Linked DNA regions of Homo sapiens: region 1 is linked to region 2. The links are contacts of gene promoters, found by promoter capture Hi-C in blood cells and fetal thymus (Javierre and others, 2016). All regions are on one chromosome and are shown on one strand. The core of a region is centred on a gene start or on the middle of the fragment in contact, and the rest is flanking DNA. Distances in the headings are between cores, read along the strand shown.

Region 1 (5,324 bases), core at 1,145-3,644, 300 kb after region 2:
TTTAAAATTAAAAAAAAGGAAGTGTTCATATGGCAAGAATACCAATCCTGAAAATGTTACATGTGTAATAAGCATTTATATACACATTTTTGCATTTTTGGAGACAAGGATAAAATATACCTTTTTTTCTAGGTTGTATAATTATGAGTAGTTTTTCATTTCCTGTATATTCTGTGCTGAGTGTGTGTTAGTTTTTTAATCAGAAAAAATAAAGCAAGACACTGAAATGAAACTGTAATGAATTTCTGTCTTTCCATTCCGGAATTTGGGAAGTCCTTAATAATAACACACAGAGCTAAACACAACTATGTTTGCCGGAATTGACCAAAGGTATTTCAGAGAATAGGGGTCCCTAAGTAGGGTATAGAGGCCCCCCTGCCCTAGGTGTTTCACAGTTTAACACCTTTGAGCAGGTCTCAGTGCATTTCTCTGTGGACCTGCAGCACAGAGGAAACCTAGCAGAGTGGGTAAGAGTTTGGCTACAGTGTGCCTGGGGGCAGATTGCCCTCCCTTGCTGATCCTTAGCTGCTTCATCTGTCCAATGGGGTAAGAATACCACCCTCAAAGAGTGGTGAGGACTAAATAAGTTAACATCATGTATTTGTTGTTGCTGCTGCTGGAGCTTTTTTTTTTTTTTAAAGATAGGGTCTCACTGTTGCCCAAGCTTCAGTGCAGTGGTGCAGTCATAGCTCACTGCAGCCTTGACCTCCTGGTCTTAAGTGATCCTCCCACTTCAGCCTCCTAAGTAACTGGGACTATAGGTGTGTGCAACTGTGCCTGGCTAATTTTTTTTTATTTTTTAATTTTTCATAGAGATGAGGTCTCACTATAGTGCCCAGGCTGGTCTCAAATTCTTGGCCTCCCAAAGTAGTGGGAGTATAAGTGTCAGCTACCACACCTGGCTTGCTGTAGTTTATCTCAGTGCTATCATTAAGTAGGGGAAGTTCATTGTCCCAAGCAGAAATGGATGGCAAAGGGGGTTTCTTCCTACCAGCTTGTGTCTCTGGACTTCAGATACATTAATGGTCTTTCTTACCCGTGCTTATTTTTACACCTCAGTCTTCTTACTTTTTTTTCCTCTTCCTTAGCAAGCCTCTCAGAGCGTCATTCTCCACAGCCCCGAGTTTGAGGATGCTTTGTGTGCCCTGATGGTAATGGCTGCTCCACTGGCCCCTCATGTAACCTCAGAGATCTGGGCAGGTACGTGGCAGAGTCCTTTTTTGACCAGTTACTACTAACTAGAATTTGTCGAAGCCTCTTTTTGAACATCATTCGGGACTCAGATGTCCTCAGATATAGGGTCCAACATTTGGCATCTATACTCAGCAACCTCTCTGTCCTGTACTCTGAATGGTAGTACTTCATCCACATGGTCACCCCTACCAAAAGGAAAGACACTTCCCTGCTTTGAATAATGTGCCCAGACTAATGTGGGTGTTGATGTTACCATCTTAATCCCTTCTCGTGACTCAGCCCCCCAGTATCCACATATTATGACCTGCGTGGTCTTTTTAAGATAAAAACTCATGTTTAATACCACTGTACAGGTGGAAATTAAGTTATAGGTCTAAACTTACACTGTAATTCAGCACTCTTCACCAATTATTCCTAATCTAGGCATCAAAGCAGGCCTGACTGCCTGCTTGAATTTCAGCCCCTAGAACCCTCCACATCATTGGGACTGTTAGCCTGGACAAAACCAGGACTTCACATAATCATCGAACTGGGATTAGGCCAAGCATATAGGGAGGGGCAAAGTGACATGTAATTGAGCTCCTGAAAGATCATGCATGCATGGGAAAGTCTTCAGATGTTTCTAGAAATAGGTCATCTGAAATGCATGTGACTTGGCAGTTTCGTTGACGTAAAAGATTTCTTCTAAAAAAAAGATCTCTCCTAATTAAATTTACTGATGTGGTGTCACAGAGAAGAAATGCATGTTGTTTAGTTGAGCAAACCACGAGTCTCAGTGTAAGCTTGAGTGATAAGAAGAATTTGAGGATTATTTGAAATTCCCACCACCCAAGCAACTTTATGCCTACAGGAAATAGGTGGAAATTACAGTAGGATTTATAGTTGACAGAGTATTGCCTGTGTCTCTCACAAAGCCTTGTTTATTGCCTTCTACTTTAAAACATAGTACTCCTTGTTGATTTGAGGGACTCATTGGGAATTGGGCCCTACCATCTCCCTCAGAGTTGCTTCTTAATTCCTCAGGAGGAGCAGTGGTTCCTTTTTCTTTTTAGCTAAGATGAGACTTATTTTTCCAGGGTCCCCTTTTTTACAGTATAAGTGTCTCTGTCAAAAGGAAGTGTTTTTCATTCCTTGAGGAAAAGCGAATCTGTTTTATTTCGCTTTCATTGTAAACCCATGAGCTTAGTTTGGATTTTTATCCTTTTTGATATCTAAAGCCACTTTAAAATTAAACTTGTTCAGCCAAATATTGAAGTTCACGTAGTGGGAGGATTTGCCAGCCAGTTTTTTGTTTATGTACCATATCTACAGTTTCTGACTTTAAGCATCAACCAAAAAAGTGGAAAGGGCTTTGGAAATCAGGAACTAATCCTAAAACCTGGGTAAGGATTTGGATGGGTCTGACTCTGAAGTTTCCTTTGGTTCATTCTTTGCTGCTTGCAAGACTGAATCAAGGTCCAGTTTACTTTAGCAGGAAAGAGATGTGGTGTAGCTCCCAACAGATTCTGCCCTACTTTATATGCTTTAAGACATCCTGATTGAGTACAAGTGTATTTCATTGTGTCTTAAGTCATCTTCTGGGTCTTTCCAGTTACTCTTTTAGTTACCCTTTTTAAACCAAGCTTTTGCAACTCCTGGCCCCCTCCAACAGGTGGCTTAGTTGGAAGAAGTCAGAGAGGCCTGGGTTGAGTGTACCCAAGATAAGTCTGAATTCTATATTAATTCCTGTCTTTCCATTCTGGAATTCGGGAAGTCCTTAATAATAGCATGCAGAGCTAAACACAACCACATAGCTTAAATACTAGCTACCAGTCAGTGTCAGATGCCTCTTTCATAGGGGTTGCAATTTTAAGTGACAATGAGGTAGTGCAACTGATTTAAAGTAGGAGGGGAAAGAGAGAGGAGGAGGAGAAGGCAATTATAAGGACTTCATGAGTTGAGCAAGATTTTAAACGTAAAGACGAAGGAGGTGAGGAAAGATGGGAAAAACTGAAATGTGTTTTCAGTGGATCTACAGGGGAGACAGTTTTTAAGTTTCTCACATTTTGAATCTTTAAGGGAGACAATTTTTGAGTCCGATTTATGTTAGAAACCTCTTTATACAATTAAAGAAATCATACCATTGGATAATCAGAATTGTTTTATCCTTTTTGTTCTAAGGAACCTCTCAAATGAACAATTTTGTTCCTATCAAAAGTTCCCCAAAGGGATCACTGTCATTCCAAATTGTCTTTGGAAATTTGTGGCACTTAAAAAGATATGCACAGGAGTTAGGGCTGTAATTAGAAAACATAAAGAAAGCCTGTGCTTGTGGTGGAGGAGGCAGTTTTAGATTGAAAAGACCAAGACATGAGCCGCAACATATCCATGGGTTGCTGCTTGTGGAATTTTGCATCTTGGTGCTTGATCAAAGTCAAGTCATCATTGATCAGGAGCCAGACAAAGCCTCCTGCTTATCGGTAGACAAAACTAACATAAAAGCAGTTCTCAGGAACACAAGAACAAGACTGAGGGAGAAGTCATTATGAGATTTTGCAATGGTGACTCGGGCACAGCGTGTCTCCAAGAAGTAACTGACTGACCACTTTACCACTTCACCCTTAGGGCTAGCTCAAGGACAAATTTATGGGACCTATTCCCATCCTCTCCCAGTGGACAAACAACATTCAAGATAGTACACAAGCAGATAGATAGGGCATTAGGCCAGCAGATGTTAGTTACTAGAAAACATTTTCACCAAAGAACAATAGAATTCTGATCAAAAAACCAAATGTCCAAAATGGGACCTATTCTTAAGAAAATAAGATAAATGCAACAGTAAAATCTTCAGTGAAATCCTGGAGTTCAATTCAGCATGAACGTAGTTCCCAGCCAAGGGTGAGTGGCACCTCATCCAGGTAGAGACACAAGTGGGTCTCAGATGCATGCACTGTTTCTGAGTCAAAGGTTCCAGTCAAAGGTAGTGAGAGTCTCAGTTGAAATTCCATGAACCTGCAATTCTATCAGCATCCTCCAGCCAGAGACCACCAGGAACACACCTTCAGATAACAATTTGGGTTTATTACCGGGGGAAACACTGGGCATCTCAGAGGGTGCTAGGAAGGACCTGTTATATAATGAATTTGGGCTTTGGTAGAATAATTTGGGGAAGGGTCTCAGGAAGTGAGGATTTGCTCTGGATTGAGTGCTGTCAGTAAGTGGGGACAGTTTTGTGATTGGGTATCTTAAGAAATCTTATCTTGCCGGGCGCGGTGGCTCACGCCTGTAATCCCAACACTTTGGGAGGCCGAGGCAGGTGGATCATGAGGTCAAGAGATCGAGACCATCCTGGCCAACATGGTGAAACCCCGTCTCTACTAAATATACAAAAAATTAGCCTGGCATGGTGGCGGGCACCTGTAGTCCCAGCTACTCGAGAGGCTGAGGCAGGAGAATGGCATGAACCCAGGAGGTGGAGCTTGCAGTGAGCCGAGATCACACCACTGCACTCCAGCCTGGGCGACAGAGCGAGACTCCGTCTCAAAAAAAAAAAAAAGAAATCTTATCTTTAGGGAGATACACCTGAGCAAGGATAAAGTTGTAATTAGTAAAGAAATAGCAGTCCCTCATATCTGCCTAGAGAAGGGGATGTTTGATATTTTGTGTGTTTCACAGTGACCTTGTCTTTGTGCTTTGACAAAATTATGACATGGTCTTGTTTTGGTCTCCTTTTATGTTTTCAGTGTGACTGTCTGATGTTGGTGTTCAGTGAGATCATTTGTGTTGAACAGGAGAATAATATGGCCTAGCTATGCACAACTGGTGAATTTCTTATAACACTGAGGCCTAGCTATAATTGTCAGACCAGTTCCCAGATGATAAGGACTGAGAATAAAAATCCCCTAACCATCACCCTCTAGAAATAAACAGCCACCATCAGCATCTTAGCGCAGATCATTGCAGTGGATATGGTGGCTGGGTGCAGTGGCTCACGCTTGTAATCCCAGCACTTTGGAAGGCCCAGGCAGGAGGATCACTTGAGCCCAAGAGTTCAAGACCAGCTTGGGCAACATAGGGAGACCCCATCTCTACAAAAAATTTTAAAATTATCTGGATGTGGTGGCATGTGTCTGTAGGCTCAGCTACTCGGG
Region 2 (5,136 bases), core at 2,224-4,723:
TGGCAATTCTGAAAGTCAATAGATGTTGATATTTCAATCACCCCTAAAAGGTAGATGTTAGGGCCCATATATAGAAAGTTCCATTAAGTGCCTGAGTGTCTCATTTAAAATTAATGCTATCAGGTTCTTTGGGGTTTGTAGCTACACAAAATCTGACATTGGCTAGGGTAGGTCAACAAAACGGTGGACCTTGAGCAGTGAGCTCCTAATTTTCCTGGGAAAAGAAGTTTCTAGTGACGAACAATACCATTCAGGGAGGCAGAAATCCTGGATTTAGTCTCAGCTCTGCCTCGTGTAGCTGTGTGATTGTAGACAAGATGCTCAATCTCTCTGAGCCATGGTATACATCTTGGAAAAAAGCAGGGAGAGTGATTACATGTGTGTACAAAGAATACATAATGTGTCTCCAGAGTTATAAATGCTATGATTACATTAAATTGATCAAGGTTAGCAAAATTATTGACTTTTCTCCTGCCAGTTACCACAGGGTTAAAAAATGGTGATGCTTACAACCTACAAAGATCAATACTCCACCCTCTCCCCTCTCAGGGGCTGGTACCTGCTACAGATATCTCAGGACCTCAAAGAGTCAAAGGGGCAGCTGAAGCTGCAGGGCAATGACCCAGCCTCTCCTTCAGCCAGATTGCTGGGAAAATAAGCATCCCATTTATTTGATATAATAGACATCTCAAGATAAAAGGAGACAACCTACATTTGAGGGTTCCATTCCACTAGAACACAGCAGAGCAGTTCTCAAACTGGTAATGCATAGGAATGCCTTGGAGGGCATGTGAGAACACAGATTGCTAGGCTTTATCCCAGAGTTTCGGATTCTATAGGTCCTGGGTGGAGCCCAAGTTTTGCATCTCCAAGTTCCCAGGTGATGCTGATGTTGCTGGTCCAGGGACCAGGCTTTGAGAACTATAGCTCTAGACCAATCTCAGATATGCTTGCAAAATGAGGACGAGATGGAGCAAGGGAAAGCAGCTTTCAAAGTCTCTTAAAAACGCTTTTAAAATAATTTTTAATATTAAGTCTCTTTAAGGACTTTTTACTTATTCTTCTGAAAACCTGGAAGAATTTGAAACTACTACACAGCAGACACTGTAACATGGAAACCAAGAGTGAGGAAAATCTTGTGATCATTAACTATTTATCCCCCAAGAGTTTATCTTTTTAAAAAATCTAAATGCCAAAATAATATCTCAGGTTTTAATACCAGCTTTTGGAATGTGCTTATCTGCTAAAGTTCATGCATATGAAAAGAAATCTACATGCCTTTTAAAGTGAGTCATTTTCGTGAAAGCCATCCAGCTCAGAGGAACTATTGATTTTACCATTTTGATGCTTGCCTGGGTGTTTTGCAGAGCTTAGAACAATGAGCAAAAAGTTAAATCATATAAAACTGTGTTTGCCACCGTGACAGGTGGGGGGTGGATGGGAACTGAGGGTCAGTGTGGTGAGATGCAAGACAATCGCCATCAGGGCAAATAATACTGTTTCCATCTATCTCTCACAGCCAGGTAAAGGAGACAGAAGTAGCCCTTCTCTAACTTTTCCGAGATTCCCTTGCTCAGGTTTTAGGGTAACGTCTTGCAATTCTGGGATTCCCTTTCCCAAATCAAATAAAGAAAAAGCTACATACACATCTCTGGAGGAAAATGTCTGTATTAAAAGCCAAAAAACCACATAAGTACAAGAAGAAACGCCCACCAGGCCACGTCACTGGATAGATCAACTTGGAAAAGGTTCATAAAGTTCATTTTCAGCGGTAACAATATATCGGTGTTAAATCCTTCCCATGCCCTCCCCCCAATTTTAAATAAATTAAAAAACCACAAATTTCAAATACAACTATGTTCAGATACAAAGAGCTTCTCTTACTACAGCAATAGCAATTTAATCTTTTTGTTTTGTATTTTTTTTACTAAAACTTTCATTTAAAACAGTTATTAAATATATAAAACAAATACACAGGATTTGGTCATTTTCTGCCATGAATCTAGGGCACGTGGGTGCGGGGAAGGAGTCGGGCAGGGGGATGCAATAGAGGGGAAAGGGCCCCATTTCCCTCCTCTCCGTCTTCGGAGCTGCGATCCCACCCTCAGTCCAAGGGCTTAAACATCTGCTTTTCGGAACTGGAAGCGCAGCACAAACCTTGCTTTTCAAAGGCGCTGGGGTCTCTCGGCGGCCCCATCTCGGGAAGAGGAACTAACGATAACTACAGCACGAAGCACACCGGCCGAGTCTCCGGCGGGAAAGGCACCCGCGCGCGCGGACACAGGACGGACACAGGGAGGAGCGGAGCGGGTCACTTGGTCGCCACCCCCGAAGTGACGGCCGCGGCGGCGGCGGCAGCGGCGGCGGCGGCGGCGGCTGCGGTGGTCCCTGCGGGCACTGCGGCGGGGGTGGCTGCGGTGGTGCTGGCGGTGGTCCGGCGCTGTTCCATGCCGTTGGGCAGGAAGCCGGCGATGATGGGCACCGGCCAGATGAGGGCGGCCACGCTCCACACCACGATGACCAGGGTCATGAAGCAGGCCACCAGCGTGGACTCAATGGGCTTACGGTTCAGCCGCCAGCCCGGCTCGCCCTGCAGCTCCTCCAGGCTGAAGTCTAGGCAGCAGAAATGCAGCGGCTCGCCCTGCAGCCACAGCGGCCCGGGCGGCTCGGCCGCGGGGTAGGCTGGCAGCGCGGTGGGCGCCCCGGCGGTGGCGGCGGCGGCGCTGGGGGCGGCGGCGGGCCGGAGGCGGCCGGTGCGGCGACCGCGCACCCAGCCGCAGCCCACGCAGAGGCGCAGGTCCTGCTGCGCGCCGCCCGCCGCCAGCCCCAGGTGCTCGATGAGCAGCGGCGGCCCGACGCGGTGGAAGGCGGCGGCGAAGAAAGCGCGGCCGTGCGCGTTGGTGGAGAAGAGCAGTAGGTCGCACTGGAAGCCCCGCGGGCGGCCCCAGCGCACGAGCAGCGAGCTCAGCATCTGCCGCTGCACGCTGATGTTGCACGGCGCCGCCGCCGCCGCCGCCTCCTCCGGGCCCGGGCGCTCGGGGGGCCCGGGGGCCGCCGAGGCCAGCAGCCGCGGGGCGATGGGCTCGTCCGCGGAGGACGCGTTGACTGAAGCATTGGAGGGCACCCCGAGGAGGCCGGGCGCGTCCGCGGCCCCGCCGCGGACGGGCGGCAGCGGGCAGGCGGCGGCCAGGAGCGCGGCGAGCAGGGGCAGCATGGCCTGCGGCGGGCGCCTACGCGCGCGAGGCCGGCGGCGGTTGCATGGCGAGCGGGCGACGGGCCGGCGAGCTCACGGTGGGACCGCGGGAGCCGGCGGCCGGGCGCAGTGCGGGCGCGCCGGGCGCCTGCCAAGCCCGCAGGGGCGGCGCGGAGGCGGTGACGGCGGCTGGCTCGGCGCGGGGATCCCTCCAGACCCGGTTGCGTTTGGGGTTCCCCGCCGCCCCCGGCGCCGGGGCCCTTGGGCTGCCGCGCTGCTCTGCGGGGCCGGGTGCTATCCCAGAGCAGGATTCCCCGGCTCGGCTCCGCCTCCCGCGTGCCCCGCCCCGCCCCGCCCTCCGCTCGCCAGGCTCGGGGACTCAGGGGAGGGCGGGGTTCCACGCGCCGGGGCTGGGAGAGGAATCGCCGGGGCGGGGCTGGGTGCGGGGGCGCGGCGGAGAGCGGATCGCCCGGGGTGCGTGCGGGCGGGCGGGGAAGCCTGCGGACGCGCCCGGGCGCCCCCGCGCTCCGGGTGAATCGCGTTCTCAGAGGGAGGCTCCAGGGCCCGGAGACCATCCTTTTGTCAGGCCTGAGGGGAGCTTCGCTGTCTCGCCTTAGTGCTACCGAACCTCCTTTGTTTTACAGAAGGGGAAACTGAGGTCGAGAGAGGGGAAAGGGCCTCGCTAGGCCAACTCATGAGCCAGAAACAAGTCCGCGCCACTAGCTCTTTCTGCCTTTTTACGGTGTCTCTTACCTCAAATCTGTAGAGTTTGGCTGCTTTTTAATGGCTCCAACACAGCAGACTCACTTGGGATTCTCCTCGCAGCAAGCGAGGAAAATTCCAAGAACTCTGTGGAGTTTCGAGTGGAGAGTGACTGGCTGGGGGGAATGTGAGCCCTGAAGCTGTGCCGCCTGGGGGTCCCGAGGACACAGGTCCTGACAGGTCGAGTGAGCGCGTGTTCATGAAACAGTTGTAGGTTAGAACCCACGTCAAAGGGGCAGTTCATCCCCTTTGGGATATTATACGGGAGGAGGGCTACCAAGAATAACGTGTCAAGAGATCAGATTTATCACATTTATATTGAAAAGCACTTTCTTAGTAGTTCGGCCCCTCACACTTGGAAACAAACTTCAACGACCCTTCATCATTCCCATCGTTCTTTAGGGGACATTTATGTTGAATTATTATCTATTTTATTTTAGTTGGAAGCCCTTGTACTCCATGAGCACCAAGTATTCCTGATTCGGAGAGGGGAGGGGTGGAGGGAGCAGAGAAAGGCCTCAACAAAACCGCCTTCCTTCTAAACCAGCTAATCCTGAGAGGTCTGCCAAGAGTCCAGCTACATTGCTAGGCATCCTGGCTGATTACTTTTCTGGAAGCTTTTGTCCATTGTTTTCTAACAATGAGTAAAATGGGACTGAGAAAGTTGCAAAAACGCCTCAAAATAAAGCTCCCCAACTTATTCCACCTCTTGCCATCTAAGCAAGCCATTATTCTGACTTAGCCTTGGTTTCCCCATCTGAGTTGGGGGGTGGGTGGTACCTCCTCACAGGGCTGCTGTGATAATACTCCCAACCCAGTGTCTATCTGTCCCCAGATGTTCCCACATGGTGGTTGCTGTGATGTGGTTACTAACAGTGCTGCCCAAGTTGGCTGCCTAGAGTGGTCCTTGGTTTCTACAGAAATGGTTCATTTCCCCAAGGGGATGGGACTCCCTTTTCGTTTCAGCCTCCATCACTTTTGTGCTTGGAAGTGGTGCTACCAGGGAGAACAATGTGAATTTTCCTGCTTTTAATAAAAATGACTTCTCCTTTCAACCTTTGCATATCAGGAACAGAAGCTGCTCAGTGATGTGGCAGAACAGTTTTAATTTAAGCCATGTGTCTGGTGAACCCTGAAGAACAGGAATATCAAGTGATCCTGAGGGCTGAGGGAGGCCTAAT

What was found. Contacts are between HindIII fragments. The CHiCAGO score rates a contact against its expected background, and 5 or more counts as called.
Region 1: a contact is called between a fragment that was not itself captured here and the fragment with the promoter of TMEM158 in region 2, in 4 of 17 cell types (megakaryocytes, M2 macrophages, M1 macrophages and 1 more). The highest score is 8.3, in megakaryocytes.

Annotation. Positions count from the first base shown.
Region 1 is chr3:45,522,909-45,528,232 of GRCh38, forward strand. LARS2 (leucyl-tRNA synthetase 2, mitochondrial) reads left to right here. Exons shown (of 22, transcript NM_015340.4): 20 at 1,089-1,200. Among named protein-coding and RNA genes, the nearest start is that of LARS2-AS1, 16 kb to the left of the region's middle. The HindIII fragment of the contact is 840 bases long and covers 1,975-2,814 here.
Region 2 is chr3:45,222,814-45,227,949 of GRCh38, forward strand. It overlaps TMEM158 (transmembrane protein 158), which reads right to left and starts at 3,474. Exons shown (of 1, transcript NM_015444.3): 1 at 1,653-3,474. The coding sequence starts at 3,214. The coding sequence ends at 2,312. RefSeq lists silencers at 3,301-3,370, 3,381-3,720. The HindIII fragment of the contact is 4,918 bases long and covers 1-4,570 here.